2 separate regions of the Homo sapiens genome follow, and region 2 is linked to region 1. Evidence: promoter capture Hi-C in human tissues and cell types (Jung and others, 2019). All regions are on one chromosome and are shown on one strand. The core of a region is centred on a gene start or on the middle of the fragment in contact, and the rest is flanking DNA. Distances in the headings are between cores, read along the strand shown. Region 1 holds the start of FAM83F (family with sequence similarity 83 member F). Region 2 overlaps ENTHD1 (ENTH domain containing 1).

Evidence for each region. Contacts are between HindIII fragments. The study calls those that stand out against the background at their distance.
Region 2: a fragment that was not itself captured here is called in contact with the fragment with the promoter of FAM83F in region 1 in 1 of the 25 tissues and cell types used here (spleen).

What each region holds. Positions count from the first base shown.
Region 1 is chr22:39,993,373-39,997,802 of GRCh38, forward strand. FAM83F (family with sequence similarity 83 member F) reads left to right here and starts at 1,582. Exons shown (of 5, transcript NM_138435.4): 1 at 1,582-2,159. The coding sequence starts at 1,671. It overlaps LOC124905155, which reads left to right. Exons shown (of 2, transcript XM_047441700.1): 2 at 976-1,396. The coding sequence ends at 1,396. RefSeq lists enhancers at 1,297-1,930, 4,043-4,430 and a silencer at 1,505-1,624. The HindIII fragment of the contact is 11,866 bases long and covers 1-4,430 here.
Region 2 is chr22:39,847,970-39,852,047 of GRCh38, forward strand. All of the region lies in intron 3 of ENTHD1 (ENTH domain containing 1), which reads right to left. Among named protein-coding and RNA genes, the nearest start is that of ENTHD1, 44 kb to the right of the region's middle. The HindIII fragment of the contact is 5,099 bases long and covers 83-4,078 here.

The sequences.
Region 1 (4,430 bases), core at 332-2,831:
TCCCACTGCCCTGAGCTCCTGTGTGTCTCCAGACTATTGAGTCTGGCATCTTGTAGGGCGTCAAGTCGTAATAAACTAAGTGCTCTCCCATCTAAGGACACAATCTGTCTATATGTACTTAAGAGTGGAGCATTACCAGGAGTGAAGCTTTCCAGTTCCCAAGAGGGGTAAAGGACAAGTGAGGTGATGGACACCTTGCTGCTCACCACTCCCAATCTTTGGGCTGACACAGGATGCCAGAACTGATTATTGTAAAAAAAAAAATAATAATAACAATAATGTGCAGACATTTGAAAATCTAACTCTCATTTTTTCCAGAGCATGAAAGGAAGGCCTAGAAATGGTAAGTGACCTTTTCAAATCCCCTGGGGTGAAAACCAGGTCCCCAATAACCTGTCGTTTCACAAGAAAAGGAGAAAGGGTAAAGGCGGCCGTGATGTCAGCGAAAGACCTCCAAGACAGAAAACCTTGCAGTCCCCGTGCTCTGCCTCTTTCACGGGAGACCTGGGCAACGCACACGTTGCTAGGCCTCAATTTCTTCAACTGTAAAATGAGGGGGTTGGAGGAGCTTGAAAAGCTCCTTCCAGCTCTGAGATGCTGCGCTATAAAGTGAGAGAAATGTGAACCTTTAGTTGTTATGATCTGAAAATATTTTGAATGTGGAGAATCAAATTGTAGAGCAGTGCATGAACAACATAATATGTTAATGACTAAGACGATTGTATTTAATCCGATGGGAAACAGCAGAGCTGCTGCCACCGCTGCTGTGTGTGTGCGTGTGTGTGGTGTGCACGCACGTGCGGTTTCCTTCCTTGAGCTCAAACATACATTTTGAATCACTAATATAGTAATCATGTCTCTGGCAGCCTATCTTGCCCAAACACACACGGAGAGACACCACACACCCTACTTCAAATTAAGGTGGGGGCGGGGGGAATTCCACTGCTGCTCTTTACATCATTTCTGTTTGGATAGCTATTTTTTAAAAGAAAGTTTTACAGTGAAGGTGTTGGACTCCCAGCCCAGAAGGGCTCTGATCTCAGAACTGGGACGCAAGGGTGGGGAGCTCGAGCTCTCATTAGCATTTCGCTTTTGCACACCCCCTGCCCGCTCCTCAGCCGTCACAATCCCGTCCTGCAGCAGGCCCCCCCACCAACACCGGACCCTCGACGGGGAAGGGGTCAGCTCGGCGGCCCCAGAGGCCACTGGGCCAGAACACGTGCTCCGGACTCCACGTGCGCGGAAAATGAACTCGTACCCGCGACGCGGCCGGCGGGGGCGGATGGCAGCGAGGGCCGGACAGCGAACCTTTACCCCGCGGAGGAGTCGGGGCCGGAGCCCGCACGTGGGTCTGCGACGGCCCCGCCCCCTGGGGGCGTCCCCTCAGGGACTCTAGCCCCGGCTGGTGGGCCCTGCAGGCCCGGGCCCGACCGCGTCCGCCAGGCCGCCCGGAGGTCCCGGCGAGCCCGGCGGAGGCGGCGGCCCCTCCCCGCCCGACGGCCACGCCCGCGCGGATTGGCCGCTCCCCGACGGCGGGGCGGGGCGGGACGGGCCGGGGCAGAGCTCGCGGCCAGGTGAGGCGCCCCGCCCCTCGGCGGCTCCAGGTGCGGCTGTGGGACCTCGGACCGCGGCGGGGCCGGGGCCAGGGCCGGGGCCGGGGCCGGGGCGCCATGGCCGAGTCCCAGCTGAACTGCCTGGACGAGGCGCACGTGAACGAGAAGGTGACCGAGGCGCAGGCCGCCTTCTACTACTGCGAGCGGCGGCGGGCCGCGCTGGAGGCGCTGCTGGGCGGCGGCGAGCAGGCCTACCGCGAGCGGCTCAAGGAGGAGCAGCTGCGGGACTTCCTCTCCAGCCCGGAGCGCCAGGCCCTGCGGGCCGCCTGGAGCCCCTACGAGGACGCCGTCCCCGCCGCCAACGCCCGGGGCAAGAGCAAGGCCAAGGCCAAGGCCCCCGCGCCGGCGCCGGCTGAGTCCGGCGAGTCCCTGGCCTACTGGCCCGACCGTTCCGACACCGAGGTGCCTCCTCTGGACCTGGGCTGGACGGACACTGGTTTCTACCGCGGCGTGAGCCGGGTCACGCTCTTCACCCACCCGCCCAAGGACGAGAAGGCGCCGCACCTCAAGCAGGTGGTCAGGCAGATGATCCAACAGGCCCAGAAGGTAGGCCCCCGCCTTCGCCCCCACACCGCTGGGACCTCGGCCCCAGTCCCCTGGACCGGGCCCCACCTCCCAGGCAGGGCCCGGGGCAGGCCGCCCTGAGCACCCTCTGGAAAATGGGCCCCAACCCGCCCCTACTTCCTGGGGCTGCAGTGAGGCCTGTAGAGCGAATGGCTGGGAACGTGTTTGGCAAATTACAAGGTGCTGGACAGATGTCAGCCGTCGGTATTCCAGCGTTCAGAGGCACTGGCTCTGCTCTGTACTTCTGAAACTTCCCTGTCCAGCCTTCCTCCCCAGGGAAGACTGGGGGCCGAGGCCCTGTGGTTAAAATGCACCACTCAAAGGTCTTGATGATAACCTACGTGCTGCCCAGAACATATCCCGAGCCGCTTTCTCATGTGATCGTCAAAACAACTTCAGGGAGTGGGTGGCGGTGACCTTCCCGGTCCCACCTCTGCCATGCTGCTCCTTGGACCACCCCTCTCCTCCCATAGTCAAAGCTGAGCTGGCGCCCTCACAGTCACAGCCTCTCCTGGGCCGGGTACTAGGCCCCAGCTGCCTGGAATGAATGGGGGACGGGGTATATTGAGGACCTACTGTGTGCCTGGCCCTGTGCTGGGCGCCTTGGCACAGCAGGTCACCTGACTCGGCAGCTCAGGAAAGGGCTCCTACTTAGCATATGTGTCCTGCTTGAGAGTTGGAAGGAGGGGCTGTTTCCAGGGTGGCTGGTGAGGCCAGTCCACTGTGGAACAGGTGGAAGACTTTAATCTTTATGCCTTTGGGTGGGAGTCCTGGGCAGCTTCCAGATCAAATGTAGGATGCCCCACTACATTTGAACTTTCAATAAACAACACATAACTTTTTAGTATCAGCTTATCCCAAACATGACATGAGACGTACTGATACTGAAAAATTCTTCGTTGTGTATCTGAAATTCAAATTGAATGGGAACGTTTTGTACTTTTATTTGCTAACTCTGGCTGCCCTACACTGAGATTTGTTAAGAAACAGCAGCAGCTTTTGGTGCCCAATTCAGAATAATACAACAGGAGTGGCTTGGGTTCACCACTCAAATTCCACTCAGTGAGTGAGGTTGGAGTCCTGGTTCCCCTCGAGGCTGAAGAGGCCTGAGGAGGGAAAATAGAGCTAGAAAGACCAGTGCTCAGGCTCATCTTCCTGGAAGGGGTGATTTAGGTAGTTGGGGTGATCTAGATAGTTGGCTACATTGGCTACCAGAAGGAAGGGTTAACTTTCCACTGCGCACATTTCTACCCTCCCTCTCTATAATTCCTCCCTGTCTGACTGAGTTTTCTTTGTATATTGTGTTCTGCAGAAGAAAAAGGCAAGATTGGACACAGAAGAGGGAAAAAGGATGTAGGCGGCAATACAGGCTGCAGCTGGGGTTAGGGGTCAAGTCTCATGATGTCATACTAACAAAGCCTCTATTTATTTAGCATTTAATATGTGCCATCCACTGTGTTAATGACTCACCTGCATTTTCTCATTAGCTTTTCACAACAACCGGGTGAATATGTGTTTTCCTTATTTTTGGAGAAAAAGACATCAGGATTCAGAAGTTTCTTGCCAGAGTTTCCATAGCTAGTAAGTGGCTGAGCCAGGACCCAAACTCCAAAGCCCTTGCTCTTAACCACTGTGCTACACTGCCCCAGTGTCTGAAATAATGGTGCAGTCCGATTAAGCAAGGGGTTTGAATGAAGCTAGCCTGGTCACAACCTGGAGTGCAGGTGGTGTACCCCTGTTACTAGAAGGGGGAGACTGGGCTTCTGGCCACTGAGGCATCTAGTCCCATGTGGGATGACAGGACTCTTTCCTGCATAGTGAGGTATTTTTGACTCTTTAAATATTTAACAACAGAAACTTTTAACAATTGTGAACCCATCCAATAAGTACAGGTTTAACCAGTGATTTCCTGAGGGCTGACTGTGTGCCAGGCACTACCTAGCCATGAAGAAGATACACGGTGTGGCTTTGCCCTCCAAGAGCTTAACAAATGCTAGGGCTCTGCTGGAAAGAAAAGAGTTTTTAAGGCTGAATGTGCCTAATCTGGGAAGGCTTCCTGAGGGAGGTGAGTTGCAGAATTGGAAAGGGAGAGGGTCAACTGGAATGGGCACTGTTTCAGTAAGAGAGCTTTTTGCTTCGAAAAAGCAAGGAGGTTTGATTGGCAGGTAAAAAGAGCTGTCGTGGGGGGAGGTGAGTACTGTGTGGGGCCTGGTTTGGGGACCCTAAAACTGGGCCCAAGGCAGGCAACCACCC
Region 2 (4,078 bases), core at 1,382-3,881, 140 kb before region 1:
CCAAGCTGAACTGTCATCTGGAAACCCTAGGGAAGAATCCACTTCCAAGTTCAATCCAGCTGTTGGCAGAATTCTGCTCCTTGCAACTGTGGGACTAAAGTCCCCATTTCCTTGCTGGCTGGCAACCAGGGGCCACTCTCACCTTCGAGGCCACTTGCATCCCTTATTACTCCATCTTCAAGCCAACAATAGTGCTTCAAATCCTTATCACACTTGGAATCTTTCTGACTCCCTCTTCGGCCACCAGCTAGAGAAAACTCTCTGCTTTTATTTTTTTTTAATTAATTAATTTTTTTTTTTTTTGAGACGGAGTCTCACTCTGTCACCAGGCTGGAGTGCAGTGGCACAATCTTGGCTCACTGCAACCTCCGCCTCCTGGGTTCAAGTGATTCTCCTGCCTCAGCCTCCAGAGTAGCTGGGATTACAGGCATGCACCACCATGCCCAGCTAATTTTTGTATTTTTAGTAGAGACAGGGTTTCACCATGTTGGCCAGGATGGTCTCAATCTCCTGACCTCATGATCCACCTACCTTGGCCTCCCAAAGTGCTGGGATTACAGGCATGAGCCACAGCGCCCGGCCAACTCTCTGCTTTTAAAGGACTCATCTGATTAGATAGGGCCTACCAGCATAATACCTTTTTTGCCTTAGAATATAACAATCATGGGGGTGGTAATTCATCATATTCACAGGTTCTGTCCACGCTCAAAGGGGAGAGGACTGTATATAGGCAAGGGTCATGGGGCTTATCCTCAAAACTCTGCCTACCACAAATGTCAAATTCATAAACACTTTTAAAAAATAATGTGCACTTTTTCTGTTTATGAAATATTTCCCTATTTCAATGTAAAAAATATATTCTAAATTTTCTTCTAAACGTTTCAAAGTTTTGCCTTTTTACCTTTAAATCCTTAATTCATCCAGGTTAGAGACCTCATTTCATTTTTACAATATGGATAAAAAATTATCCGAGTATTATTTATTGAGCAGTTCAGTTTTTCTCCACTATTCAAAAATGCCACTTCTGTCATTTACTGATTCCATAGTGGCCCAGGTCTGTTTTCTAGGGTTATGGTTTGTTCCATTGGTCCATGCACCTATCCTGCATCCATACCACAGTGTCATGATCAGTAAAATTTTAGTCTTGTTATTTAGAAAGGCAAACCCTCCACCTTACTCTATTTTAGGAATGTTTTGGATACTCTTGAACTTTTGATTCTTCCAGGTAAATTCTGGAATCAGTACATCAAATTCAACTCTTAAAACCCTTTTTGGATTTCGATTGTAACTGCACTGAATCAGCGGTTCTCTACTGGGAACAATTTGGCCCCCAGGGGACATTTGGCAATGTCTGCAGACTTTTTTGATTCAATACAACAGAAAGGGATGTTTGCTAATAGCATCCAGTGGGTACAGGCCAGGTATGATGCTAACTACCCTACAATGCATAGCTCCCACAACAAAGAATGATCTGTTTCAAAATATCAATAGTACCAAGGCTGAGAAACCCTCCACTAAATCTAGACAATTTGGAGAGAACTGACATGTTTACATTATTATTTTGATAAACATGGAATATCTTTCCATTTATATAGGTCTTTAATGTATTTCAATTAAACATTATAACCTACAGTGTACAGATTTTGTACTTCTTTTGTAAGACTTATTCCTAAATCAAGATTTTTGGCTATTATAAATGGTATCTTAAAAATTATGTTTAATATTTGTTACTGATATATAGAATATAACTTGATTTTATGTTTTGATGTTATAGCCAGCCATCTTTCTAAAACTCACTATTTTTAGTATGTCTGTAGATCTTTCGAAGTTTTCTATATGAAAATCCTATCGTTTACAAATGATGCTCGTTTCTTCCATTTTGATACTGACATTTTTAATTTCTCTTGCTTGTTTTACTGTGATGGCTAGGACCTCCACTACAAAGCTGACGTAGCAAGGAGAACTGATGTCCTTTTCTTCCACCTTATTCTAAAAGAAATAGTCCCACATTCAAATGTATGGAAATTTTTTATTTATATTTTTTGTTAACTTCAAATTTAATGGTATTTTGGTAAGAAAACGTGTCCTCTATGAAACAGATTTTTGGAAATGTAAAGACTTCCTTTATAACACATATCATCAATTATAAAATCCATATTAAAAAAAGTTTCATGTCCTTCACCTATCAATAAAGATGTTTTGAAATTATCTACTATGATGGTAGATATTTCAATTTATTCCTGTAGTTCTACCAACTTTTGCTTTATATACTTTGAAGTTATTTTACTGGGTATATTCACATTTAGAAATACTACATCTTCCTGGGAAATTGAGCATCTTATTATTATCCTTAATGCTCTTGGCTTTAAAGTCTCCTTTGCCTGTTATTAAGTAGCTACACCAGCCTTCTTTTAGTTTGTATATGCCTGACTTACCTTTTTCCATACATTGCTTTCAATCTTTATGTGAATTTATGCTTGCAGCATATATCTGGATTTCTCTTTCCCCAATCTGATAGTCTCTGCCTTTTAATAGGTGAGTTTAATCTATTACTATTTACTGTGATTATTAATCTATCTGGGCTTATTTCTATTATTTATTTTACTTTTTAATTTCCATTTGTTCCACTTTATGCTTTTTGCCCTTTATAAAATTTTATTTTTTTCTCATTCTACTTCTTCTTGCTACTTGTCTGGAATTTATGCACTCTATTTCTCTTCTTTTAAAGTTTATTCTTGAAAGTTTATCATGCACGTTTACCTTTAAAAGTTTACAGTCAAAGAATATTCATTACCTTCTCTTAAAAACACAAGGACCTTTAGAACACAACTCTGGACCTGCCCACCCCCACTTACATACCGTGGCTACCCACTATTCTAGTTGTCTTTTTCTTAACTCAAAAATTAGATTTATATATCAAATGTTTATTATACATACGTATCTATATTTATGTGTGTGTTTACCATTTATTCATTATTCTCTCTTGAATTTTCAACTATCTTTCTGGAATAATTTTCCTCTTTTTGAAGTATACCCTTTAATGCAGGTCTCATGGTTGTAAACTCTCTTCGTTTTTTTATTCATCTATAAATAACTATTTCACCCTCACCCTTAAATCATAGTCTTGCTGGTACACAATTATAGGCTGTTATTTTCCTTCAGCATTTCTAAGATACTATGTCACTGTCGTCAGGCTTCTACTGTAGAAGATGAGAAGCTTTCTGGTACAGTAATTAATTGTCATTCCTTTGTAGCAGTATCCTCCATATGGCTTAATTAATATTACTTTCATATTTTCCATTTTCTTTAGGCATATCTTCTAGCTCACTAAATACATTTTTTTAGTTCAGTAGTATTTCTCATTTCTGCAAGTTCCCTTTTTTCAAATTCATCCATTCAGTCCTAATAATCTCTTGATAACTGGTGATGCATGCGATTATATCCTTTATTTATGTAAATACACAGCTGTTCTGTATCTGACCTTTCCAATATCTACACTCTTTGGGGGATTAAGTATGTTCTTTGCTGCTTACCTCCTCCTGTTTTGGTGATATTGGATTTTGAGCTCATTGCTTGTCTTAAACTGGTGAAAATCCTATTGGACTTAACTTATGAAATGAGTACACTTTCTCAATTCAGTCCCCTTGAGGGTCTGGGTTCAGCATAGTGACCCAAGGCTTTCCTTCCCAATGCTCAAGACAGCCCCCAAACTCATTCTCTGATCTACTAACAACTGCTCTTAAGCAACTCAACCCCTACAGTTACCTGCAGCTTCCCACAGGCAGAATGCCAAGTCACTCTGACTTCAGCTCACATGTACTGTTCTTATTTTATTTTACATTTTTCAAAAAGAGAAACTTAGAGACTTCCCATACTTCTTGTGAGGCCAGTAGTGTCGCAAATAGTGTGTCACTTCCAGTCTTTGGTTATTGTGCAGTAAATGGAGTTCCTAGTCTCATTGCCTGAAGGAGACCTTTAATATTTTTTACTAAAAAACAGCATATAATTCCATTTTTATAAAAATAATTTCTCTCTAGCTATCCATCTCTCTATATGCATGTATAGATTTTTTAAAAAT